3 separate regions of the Homo sapiens genome follow, and all the other regions are linked to region 1. The links are contacts of gene promoters, found by promoter capture Hi-C in blood cells and fetal thymus (Javierre and others, 2016). All regions are on one chromosome and are shown on one strand. The core of a region is centred on a gene start or on the middle of the fragment in contact, and the rest is flanking DNA. Distances in the headings are between cores, read along the strand shown. Region 1 holds the start of PIGO (phosphatidylinositol glycan anchor biosynthesis class O). Region 2 has its middle 43 kb from the start of RUSC2. Region 3 overlaps UNC13B (unc-13 homolog B).

Region 1 (3,836 bases), core at 1,337-3,836:
GGAGGCTGCAGTGAGCCGTGATCACGCCATTGCACTCCAGCCTGGCAACAGTGAGACACTCTGTTAAAAAAAAAAAAAAAAGTGATAAATGCTGTGGTAGAGGAAAGTTCTGGCTGAGGGATCTTGGTGGGAAGAGCATATCAGCTTATGAGTAGCAGCGTTGCTGATTGCCACTGAACTCAGGCTGGAAAAGTTAGCAAGTTTTCACCAAGTCAGGTCCTGGACTAGAATAAACAAAGGCTCACTGCTTGAGAGAAGTTGGCTGAAGGGTATAGTGTTAAGGGGGATGTGACTACATGGCAAGGGCCAAGTCACAAGGAATGAGATTCTTGTTGAAGGGGTTGGACATTATCCCTAGGGTAATAGGGTTTTTTTGTTTGTTTGTTTGAGACAGCGTCTCCCTCTGTTGTCCAGGCTGGAGTGCAATGGCATGATCTCGGCTCACTGCAACCTCCGCCTCCCGGGTTCAAGCAATTCTCCTGCCTCAGCCTCCTTAGTAGCTGGGATTACAGGCATGCGCCACCATACCTGGCTAATTTTTTTGTTTTTTGTAGAGACAGGGTTTCACCATGTTGGTCAGGCTGATCTCGAACTCCAGACCTCGTGATCTGCCCGCCTGAGCCTCCCAAAGTGCTGGGATTACAGGCGTGAGCCACTGTGCCCGGCCTATGAAGGGTTTTTTTCCCTTCCCATGAAGAATTTTAAGATAAAACATCACATTGGCCAGGCACAGTGACTCATACCTGTGATCCCAGCACTTTGGGAGGCTGAGGTGGGAGGATCACTTGAGCCCAGGAGTTGACCAGCCTGGGCAACATGGTAAGACCCTATCTCTACAAAAAAGAAAAAAATAACAGTAATCACATTAATGTTTTAGTTAGAGCTGTCTTGCTGCAATGTGGAGAAGGGATAGTAGGGAGACACAGGAGGCTGGGAGGACAGTGAGAAGGCTGCCTCAGTGATCCTGGAGAAGGGATGAGGTCTGAACTGAGATAAGGGGCTATGGGGATGAAGGTGGAAGAATAACTCAACTTTTTTTAAAAATTAACATATTCCTTTATTCGTTTGGTCAGTATGTGAACCTCAAATATATGCTAGGTGCTGAGGATATCATGAAGAAAACAGAATTCCCTGACCTCAATGAGCTCACATTCTACTCGGAGGGGATAAACCATAAATACGTGTAGAATTTCAGATGCTGATGAGTTGTGCTATGGAAGAAATTAAGGAAGTGAGGGGAAATTTTTCCAGGGGGTGTGGTGGTGGGAGGTGCTGAACTAGTAAAGTAGGGGATTGCAGGAAGCCTTGCTGATGTTACAGTTGAGCTTCAATATGAAGGTGATGGAGATCCATTTCGGCATCGGGAACTGAAGCTGACAGAGGAGATGGCAAATGCAAAGGTCCTGAGGCAGAACTGCTGTGGATGGAACAGAGTTAGGGAAGCAAAGAAGTGGCAGCTAGATGAATCAGAAGGGGAAGAGGCAGATAGTGTGCAGGGCCATGTAGAGCCAATGCAAGAACTTTTACTCTGAGATGAGAAACCAGTGGACGGGTTTTGTTTCTTTTTGAGACAGAGTCTTGCTCTGTTGCCTAGGCTGGAGTGCAGTAGCACGATCTCAGCTCACTGTAGCCTCTGCCTCCTGGCTTCAAGCAATTGTCCAGTCTCAGCCTCCTCAGTAGCTGGGACTACAGGTACACATCGCCACGCCTGGCTAAATTTTGTAATTTTTAGTAGAGTTGGGGTTTCAGCATGTTGGCCAGGCTGGTCTCCAATTCCTGACTTCAACTGATTCTCCAGCCTCAGCCTCCCAAAGTGCTGGGCTTACAGGTGTGAGTCATCGTGCCTGGCATTTTTTTTTTTTTTTTTGAGAGGGAGTCTTGCTCTGTTGCCCAGGCTGGAGTGCAGTGGTGCAATCTCGGCTCACTGCAACCTCTGCCTCCTGGGTTCGAGTGATTCTCCTGCCTCAGCCTCCCAGGTATCTGGGATCACAGGCGCCCGCCACCACTCCCGGGTAACTTTTGTATTTTCAGTAGAGACGGCGTTTCGTCATATTGGCCGGGCTGGTCTTGAACTCCTGACCTTAGGTGATCCACCTGCCTTGACCTCCCAAAGTGCTGGGATTACAGGTGTGAACCACTGGGCCCAGCCTCCCCTCCTCCACTCCGAAGGATTATTTGCTTAATTATTCAGTCGTAAGATTTAGTTACAGGCTTTGAAAGGAGGAGTAATGAAATCTCAGTTGGACTCAGCTAAGCAAAAAAGGGAAAATAAGTATTATCTCCATTTTACAGATGAGGTAATGCCTAATGATGACAATATGTGCGGCCAAGCTAGGATTCAAGTCAAGTTTGACTCCAGCAGCCGTGCTCTTAGTCGTAACCATGAATGGACAGTGGTTCCCTGAACTCTTCCTCCAGCTTGGTCCCCTGTCCCCAATTTTCAATTACTAAATATCCCATCAAACTGGGGCCAGCCCCACGCTCCTGGCCAAACTTCCACCGAGGTGCCGGCAGATGGCGATGGAGCCACCGACGGGCCACTCTGTCTGGCGCACGCATCTCTGTGCTGCCAGGTCGCAGGCGCCGCCGCCGCCGCACTTCCGGGTGCCATTGCAGGTGAGCCAGGGTCTCCCGAGAACCTCACCCCCCGGTATTCCCCTCACCCTGAAGTAAGGGAGTCTCCCTCTTCCCCTCAGCTCCTAACCAAGGTGCTCAGTACCGCGGCTAGGGTGCCCAGCGGGAGGCTGGGTAGTTACCGGAGGAGGCAGAGCCGGTCGCACGCCTGGGTCCCAGCGGAGGCCCAGTCGACTCTCGACCCGGGCCCCAGCCTCCTTGCGTGGCGAAGGTCGTGCCTCAGGTCTCCTGGCGAACCTGGCCGCCCGGAAGCGGAGAGTGACTCCTCCCCTTCGTCCCCTCGGTGCCCGCCAGGCGGCGCCGTCGGCTGGGCCCGGATTCCCCTGCGGCTTCGATCCCTTTCCACTGGGTATTGAGATTGGCGAGGGGAGAGGCGCAGAAACGGCGTGTAAGAGAGCCTGACTACCAATTGGAATAAGTTTCCCTCCTGACTGTTCACATGTACAGGCAGCATTAGCATTTCCTGCCTGTACATGTGAACGTTCCTATGCTCTACCCCTCGAAGATCCTGATTCAGTAGATCTGGGGTGGGACCTCATGAAACGGCGTCTCCCTCTGTTGTCCAGACTCTAGTGCAGTGGTTCAATCTCGGCTCACTGCAACCTCCGCCTCCCCGATTCAAGCGATTCTCCTGCGTCAGCCTCCCCAGTAGCTGAGACTACAGGTGCCCGCCACCCATTTTTGTATTTTTAGTAGGGACGGGGTTTCGCCATTTTGGCCAGGCTGGTCTCGAACTCCTCACCTCAGGTGATCCGCCCGCCTCGGCCTCCCAAAGTGCTGGGATTACAGGCGTGAGCCACCATGCCCAGCCTGGAAATAGGAGGAGAGTAATATTGCGAGGGGTTGGCTGTGAAATGGTTTATCTCCAGGAAGGTTTCCGGGAGGAAGTGATTCTAGCTGGGCTTGTATTCAGGGACCAGAATATCCACTGGTTCTTTGCCCCACAGTAATGAATTTACTTCCCCACCCCTATCAGGATGCAGAAAGCCTCAGTGTTGCTCTTCCTGGCCTGGGTCTGCTTCCTCTTCTACGCTGGCATTGCCCTCTTCACCAGTGGCTTCCTGCTCACCCGTTTGGAGCTCACCAACCATAGCAGCTGCCAAGAGCCCCCAGGCCCTGGGTCCCTGCCATGGGGGAGCCAAGGGAAACCTGGGGCCTGCTGGATGGCTTCCCGATTTTCGCGGGTTGTGTTGGTGCTGATA
Region 2 (3,836 bases), core at 715-3,214, 350 kb before region 1:
CATCTCTGATATGTGGGCAAACAGTGGGAGTGCAGAGCATAAGCTATGACATTCTTTCCTCTTAAGCATTCCTTGAAGGGCTTCAAGATATGAGAAGTTTGGCTCATAGCCTGGAAGCTACAGGGACCATATCTTCTAAGGGTCCTTAGACTGACCTTACCCCAGGCTTCAGGAAGAAGGTAGAAATCATCACAGAACTTGGACATCATGTAGCAGGAACAGCAACTCAATTCCATGCAAACACCTCAAAATGCTTTTAGGTGGCATTAGTTCTCTGCTCAGAGCTTCCCAAAGATACTCACTACCATGTAACCAACCTTGGGAAAACTTAACTACATTTGTGCTGGTTGGCAGCCCCACTGTTATTGCTTTCAGGAAAAAAACCTTTCGCTGAAAAATGAGCTTTTATGAGTGGCAATTGTGTGTGAGTAGCTGCTGAAGTACATACAGTGAAGAAAGTAAGTCTAATTTAAGTCTTTTGAGTTTGGGAATTAGGTAGCCTAGTCATTGCCACTCTAGATCAAGAACCAATGAAGGAAGTTCCACCAGGGCCTCCCTAGACGCTTAAGCTTCTCCCTAGGGATTTGGTCTCATTACTTTTCACAGAAGCAAGGAGTCTAAAAGCCTCATGTCTAGGAGTAGATGCTCTAGAAGGGGAGCTCTGGGAATCTGAGTTGAATAATATTCACTGTGGTAAATCTTTCTTGATATTTCCTACTATGGTTGTTGTCACTGAGAGAATGGGGCAGCACAGAGGCTTCCTCCATTTTCCTGAACCACATCATAACCCAAGAAAATCTCTTACTAAATATAATGAATTGTGGTTCTAAATAACATCTCAAGAGGGGCCACTATTAATGATCCATATGTGACTTTTCTGTGGCATGAACTTTTTACATTATATTTTTCTCTATAATAAGCATTGTGTCCATCCTCTCTTCATGGGAATAGTTCATATGTATACTCTCCCCCTTCACATGGTAATTCTATCATACTTCCTCTGTATGTATACCCTCTCCTGTGTCCAGATCTTGTTAAAGAGACTCATGGATGCCCTGTGGTTTTGGAACACAATGCCTTCCTCTAACAAAGGTAGAACCGATATGTTGGAAGTTCATTGCTTGGAAACAGAAGGCACTTTTTTTCCCTAAGAAACAAGGTTTTTTCCCACAAATCTCCCATCCATCCATCCATCCATCCTTCTACCTGCCTATCTATCTCAAAACCATAGTGTTCTGAAATATATCTGAGTGTCATATCCACATCCTGAAAACTAAGTACCCATAGCTCAGCCATGAATGGAATTTAGCAGGCTGGGGGCCAAGGGAAACGTACCAGTGTAGATCACCAAGCCATAGCACCAATCTGTATTCCTGATGTTGCAGCCTCAGAGTAGCAGCTTGTCATGGTCCAGGAAGTAGTTTTTCCCCTTATAGGTCAGTATTCCTGAGAATTTGTCCAATTTGTTATTGGGAGCCTCACATCTCACTTCTCCTGCAGAAAAATGAAGGTGTAAGAGTTCTGGATCTCTAATCTTAGGCTTTTCCTAAGGATGAAAGGAGACTTAATAGAAAGGAGGAAATAAAATTCTTCTTTCAAAATACATACACATCTTTTTCCTATCCTCTCTCAGTTACTGCCCATTTCTCACCAGCTCCTTCAAGAAAGGCAGACAAAGGTTTCTGGGAACTAAAGAAGAATAATTCTGTATGTGACATGGATCATCCAGAGAGAGAGAAAACCCCACATGATGGTGACATCAGTACTGCCAGATCATAAGAGCTCTGAATCTGAAGAAACTCAAAAACGACTCAAAGCGAACCTAGTATTTTTTTTCAAAATGGAAACAACTTGACATTTTCCTGATTAGTAAAGTAAATATGCCCTTTGTAAATGTTTAAGTAATACTAAAATGGTAAAGAAGGAAGTAAAATTCATTCACTGTCTTGAGAAAAGTGCTATTTACCTTTTGAAGTACATCCTTCTATGTTTTTTCTATGTAAGTACTCATAAACATACCTATATTTCCAAAAACAGGTTTATGTTATATACACTATGCAGTCTTTTGTAAATTGTATTTTTCTTTTAATTACATGTTGTATTTTTTATATTTCAATAAATATCAACTTGCATATTGTTGTAATAAGTTGTATAGAAATCACTATGGATGTACCATACTTTATTTAACCAGTACTCTACTGATGAAAATTTAGGTAGGAAAACCCATTTCCTAACTCACCATTAAAGGTAGACAGAAGCTCCAGGCGATCTTCCATGTCACTGGTAACTGAGATGGCCTGCTTCACTTTCAGGTTGGTTTCACTAGAGTAAAAGACAAGTGACCACTGTACAGGACACAAACAGAACTGTTGTACGGGTGCAGTATCTCCTACTTTTTCATGGGGTTTTAGAAAATAGATGTTACCAGTAGAGACTGGGCTATGAGTCTGAGCTGTAAAAGTCACTCCCACTGCTTCTCTCTCAGTATTGAGGTGAGATGGCTCTTCAAGGAAGCTGAGTGTTAGCTCACTCACTCCCGTCTCTTTCCTCTCACTCTCTGCAACACACTGCCACTACTTAATCAACTCATGAGATCTAGCTGGTCAGGTGCTCTAGAGAGGCTGAAGAAACATCATAAACAACCTGGAGATAGTACCTGCTCCCTTCAAGAATAAGGAGTATGCCTGTAATCCCAGCACTTTGGGAGGCCGAGGTGGGCGGATCACGAGGTCAGGAGATCGAGACCATCCTGGCTAACACAGTGAAACCCTGTCTCTACTAAAAATACAAAAAATTAGCTGGGCGTGGTGGTGGGCGCCTGTAGTCTCAGCTACTAGGGAGGCTGAGGCAGGAGAATGGCATGAACCTGGGAGGCGGAGCTTGCAGTGAGCCGAGACTGCACCACTGTACTCCAGCCTGGGGAACAGAGCTAGACTCCATCTCAAAAAAAAAAAAAAAAAAAAAAAAAAAAAAGAATAAGGAGTATGGCCAGACATGGTTGCTCACGCCTGTGATCCTAGCAGTTTGGAAGGCCAAGGCGGGAGGATCACTTGAGCTCAGGAGTTCAAGGCCAGCCTGGACAACACAGCGAGACCCTGTCTCTATTTTTTTTAATTAAATTTAATTTTTTAAAAAAAGAATAAGGAGCAGATCCTGGTAAAAACTTGCACATACCTCCGAGGAAACATACTCCACACCTCATAAATATTTATGGGGCCCATGACAGGCTCTTAAGTAACTGCTTGCTGGAATGCATAGACAAAAAGAAAAATGGAATCCATGTTTCAAAAAATTGTGTGCATCAAGAAGTACAGTTGTAGGAATGAAGATCAATACAAAACTCTCCAGGATAAGCTTTCTGCAGATGGCTCTATCCTCCTAAGACCTTAGCTTTTGGATGTTAATAAATGTCTACCTTAAATCCTTTATAGAACATGGTATTTTATCAGTGAATAGATATGTTTATATTCACATTTTTTCCCTTGGAAACTTTGAAACTGTACTCTGAAATGTTACAGTTCTGTTATCCTCTTTCCTGCTACTCAGCCTTATAGAATATGGCCAGAGTGTCTCCAATTTAGAGATGGAGAATGTGGGGTTTATTTGCCCTATTCTGTGCCCAGTGAATGCTCAATTGTTCCTGTCAAGAGCTCAGTCTTAGACTTGAGGGTCCCAACGATGTGGTGTCCATCTTCTCTTATCTGGATATTTCTAGGCTCTCTGGCTCACCTATTCAATATTCCATCTGAGAATAAAATTAATTCCCTGCCTAATGCTGTCCCTCAGTGAGAGACCACTCTAAGCTGGCTAAATCATCTTAATGGAGCATCAGGAGG
Region 3 (3,836 bases), core at 952-3,451, 290 kb before region 1:
GGCAGGGAATTGAGAGGTAGAGACTCTCCAGGCAGAGGCTGGAAAGCAGGCGCAGGCTAAATAAGCTGGAGGAGAAAGGGCAAGTGGGGGTGGGCTATAAGAAGGCCCACTTCATTCACAGTGGACAGACACATACACACATGGTCTCTGGATCCCCTGGGGCTCCTATGGCAGTCCCAGTCCCAGAAGTCTCTCACTCCAGGGAAGCTGGCTCAATCTGGCCAGGGACCCCCATTATGTTTCCACACCTGTCTCCAGAAACAGTTACCCAGACAGATACAAGGGACAGAGGGACAGATGGATGGACAGGAAGAAGAGGTGGCACTGCAAACATACAGAGACAGGAAAGAAAGAGGTTGTTAGACAGATGGACAGACCAACCACCAACAGACAGGGCCAAAGAGGGTGATACTCACTGGTTCAGAACAGGTGTGTAGGAATTCTTATCTTCCTCTATGATTGACACGATGAGTGTGATGAGCTTGGGCCAGAAATCCAGGTTCCGAATGCTGGGCCCTTGTTCCTCTGGAGGTAGCTCCTGCTTCTTGATCCAGAGGACACAGTGAGAGAGAGGGAGAAAGAGTCAGAGTAGAATGTAGAGGGTGTCTCCAACGATCCTCTTTCTCTTCCCCTTCCTATACCTCTTCCTCTAGAATCAAGGACCTTTCCTCTCCTAGAGCCTGTCTTCCACAAGACTATCCCTGTTCTGTAAGAGTGACTATTGTGAGATCCCTGAACACAGGGAGCCTATCGCTGAGAAGTTCTCTCTGATAAACTTGGTCAGTCCAAGAGACATAAGGATGCCCATCCTCCTTCCTTCTCTCAGTTGCTATGGGCAGAGTAACTCGCTGGCTAAAGGAAACAGCCCCTCCAGCCTTACTAAATAGGTCTACTTCTATGCGGCCCCTACAGGCAGGCAGCCCTCCTCTTCTGGTGGTATTCCTCTACTGACAGCACACCACGACCACACACATACACATCTCAGCTCTGAGAAGCTCTTTCAACTTCTGCAGGAGCTACTGAACAGATCTGGTGCGCATTTCAGCCTTTCAGTGGAGTAGGACTTCCCTTGATCCCCTGAAGTTATTAGGGGGAAGAACTGCATCTAGGAAGCTATCTGCCTAACTAGATAAGATAGGGCCTTACTTGGGAAGAGGCAAGGGAATACAATGGTGACTTTCAGGTAAAGAGAAATCACTCTATATTCACAGCCCAGAAAAGTGAAGTAGGAGTCACCACAGGGAGGGTGGAACACACATTATCTCCCACTAAGTCAAAGGTGAAGGTGGAGCTGCCCAGAAGGACAGGAACAGGGCCTTTATGTGGGATGTCATATGTCACTGGAAAGCTTCCACAGTCCTTAATAAGCCTGCATTATCAAGAAGTTCCTAGAAACCAGGACAGAATCTTTAATATAACTTAAATACATCTCTTCCTTTTATTTTTCTGTCACTGTCCTGGCTCAGGCTCTTATCATTCAAGGATTTCTGAACTGGTCTTTGATCTTCAATCCAATCCCTCCTCCTTGCAGCTATCGTGATCTTTCTACAAAGAAAATCTCAATGTGTTACTCCTCTGCTTAAAGCCCTTCAACGGCGTTCAATACAGTTTAAATTCCTTAGTTTACACCTTCCAGAATATGACTCTCAACCTCATACCTTACAACTCTTTTTGTTCCAGCTATTACCACACCACCACCACTTATTTACTGCTTATTATGTGCCGCACACTCTGCTAAGACCTTTACACACATTATCCTATCTAATCCTCACAACAACTCCATTTAGTAGAAATTATTATCACCTTCATTTACAGATGAGGAGAGTGAAGGGCAGCAAGGTTACATGACTTGTCCAAAGTCATGCAGTTTTAAAGAGCAGAACTAAGATTTGATCCCAGATAGCTGAATCCCACAGCTGGATGCCGTAAGTACCCTAAATTGCTATACTTCTTTATCTTATTTTTATTTTGTCTTTTTTTTTGAGACGGAGTCTCACTCTGTCGCCCAGGCTGGAGTGCAGCAGCACGATCTCAGCTCACTGCAACCTCTGCCTCCTGGGTTCAAGCAATTCTCCTGCCTCAACTTCCCAAGTAGCTGGGATTCCAAGCACCCACCATCATGCCTGCCTAATTTTTGTATTTTTAGTAGAGACAGGGTTTCACCATATTGGCCAGGCTAGTTTCAAACTCCTGACCTCAAGTGATCCACCCGCCCCGGCTTCCCAAAGTGTTAGGATTACAGGCTTGAGCCATTGCGCCCGGCCTGCTTATATTTCTTTAAATTAACAAGCTCATACATAATTCTGTGCCTCCAAGCATTCTATTCTCTCTGTGGTATGCCCCTTCCCTCCAGCCCCTTTCTTTAGTTAATTCCTACTCCTTCCTCAAAATTCAGATTGAACTTTGCCTCTTCTGAGAGATTTTCCTGACATCCTTGGTCTGGGCTCCCACAGCACCCTCTGTGAACCTTTGGTGTAGATGTATCAGAAAACTACAACTACAATAAAACATAGTAACAACAAAATAACAACAACAAAAAAACAATAAATGTAGTAATTTGCCCTGACCTCCACTAAACCATGAGATCCCCAAAGGCTGAAATGTCTCTTACTCAACTTTATGTCTCTAATGCTCTGTTAAGTAAATGAATGGACGAATAAACCAATGACTGAAGGTCAACAGATGGAAATTTTAAAAGACATCAAGAGTTTATGCCAGTGTAAATATGGAATAAGGAAAAAATGAAATTGAGAGAAAGTAAAAAGCAGATACTAAAATACAAAGGCTAAAGAGTATCCCTGAATAGTTTATGAGAACAGTGTCTTTCCTCAACCAGAGACTTCATAGACAGATGACAGAGGAGCCTAGAATGTATCAAGTAAAACAAAGGCCTCAGGAAAACCTCCCATGGATTTCAGAATCAACAGGAGGCTTTAGAAACCTTAAAAGGAAGAAGCCTTAAATACATGGCTGGCACAGAAAGTACACTTGGGAATGAGAAGAGGCAGTAGGAACAAGATCTTAGTCTTTATGAGGGTGTTCCTAGGAAGCTTTACAAATTGGATGTAGTTACTTAAAGATAAATGTCCAAGACATTTAGGTTGTCCTGCCATCATTGGTTGTCCAAATCCCACTGCCTTTTAAGGTCTATCTCAAATGTTCCTTGTTTTATGTAGCTTTTCCTGGTATCTGATCAAGAGTGCGAAAAGACTCTTCCTCCTTGGAATTCCTTTAATCTTATCCCTTTTTCAAGGCCCTTCAAACAGACTCTTTTGATTAGAGTTATATATATGTTTATGAGACTGCAAACTTACTGAAGGAGCACTGTGCTCTCCTCAGACCTGGCCTAGAACAAACATTCAATATTTGTTGGACTGAAGGGAATCCACTCTGCAAATGTATGGTCAGCAAGAAACTCCTAAGATTGGAACTGTAATTGAGTAATTGGAGCTAGAAGTAAGTTCTGGCTTTCAAATAAGTTGGGAGCATGGATCGGGGACACTATTAGAAGGATCTGGGAAAATGTACTAAGTCACCAGGTACTGACTTAGGGTGCCAGGCTAAAACAGGTGAAGTAGCTCAGCCTCACAGAAGGATAGGGTCAGTCTTGATAGCCAGTGGATGAATACAACCCAGAAGAACCACACATTTCAGAGAGAAGTAATTAGAGGGAAAAGTAAAGCTTCCAGGAGCCAGCAGCTCAGAGACCACTTCAGATCTCAGAGGAAGGAAGCCCAGAACTTACAAGAGTCTGCAAGAGTCAGAATAAAGTTAAACTTGAGGGAGAAAAAAAGACTCTGGGATGGACTGAGAATTCCCCTACTCAACCCCTGAAC

Evidence for each region. The method cuts DNA at HindIII sites, captures the fragments that hold promoters and counts their contacts. A CHiCAGO score of 5 or more calls a contact.
Region 2: a fragment that was not itself captured here is called in contact with the fragment with the promoter of PIGO in region 1 in 1 of 17 cell types (endothelial precursors); the score reaches 7.6 in endothelial precursors.
Region 3: a contact is called between a fragment that was not itself captured here and the fragment with the promoter of PIGO in region 1, in 1 of 17 cell types (endothelial precursors). The highest score is 5.7, in endothelial precursors.

Annotation. Positions count from the first base shown.
Region 1 is chr9:35,095,341-35,099,176 of GRCh38, reverse strand. It overlaps PIGO (phosphatidylinositol glycan anchor biosynthesis class O), which reads left to right and starts at 2,586. Exons shown (of 11, transcript NM_032634.4): 1 at 2,586-3,022; 2 at 3,611-3,836. The coding sequence starts at 3,612. It overlaps PIGO-AS1 (PIGO antisense RNA 1), which reads right to left and starts at 2,873. Exons shown (of 2, transcript NR_186491.1): 1 at 2,757-2,873; 2 at 1,033-1,417. RefSeq lists an enhancer at 2,580-2,919. The HindIII fragment of the contact is 7,045 bases long and covers 1-3,836 here.
Region 2 is chr9:35,444,891-35,448,726 of GRCh38, reverse strand. It overlaps the pseudogene ATP8B5P. Among named protein-coding and RNA genes, the nearest start is that of RUSC2, 43 kb to the left of the region's middle. The HindIII fragment of the contact is 2,785 bases long and covers 572-3,356 here.
Region 3 is chr9:35,386,554-35,390,389 of GRCh38, reverse strand. It overlaps UNC13B (unc-13 homolog B), which reads right to left. Exons shown (of 40, transcript NM_001371189.2): 25 at 417-544. Among named protein-coding and RNA genes, the nearest start is that of RUSC2, 100 kb to the left of the region's middle. The HindIII fragment of the contact is 1,702 bases long and covers 1,351-3,052 here.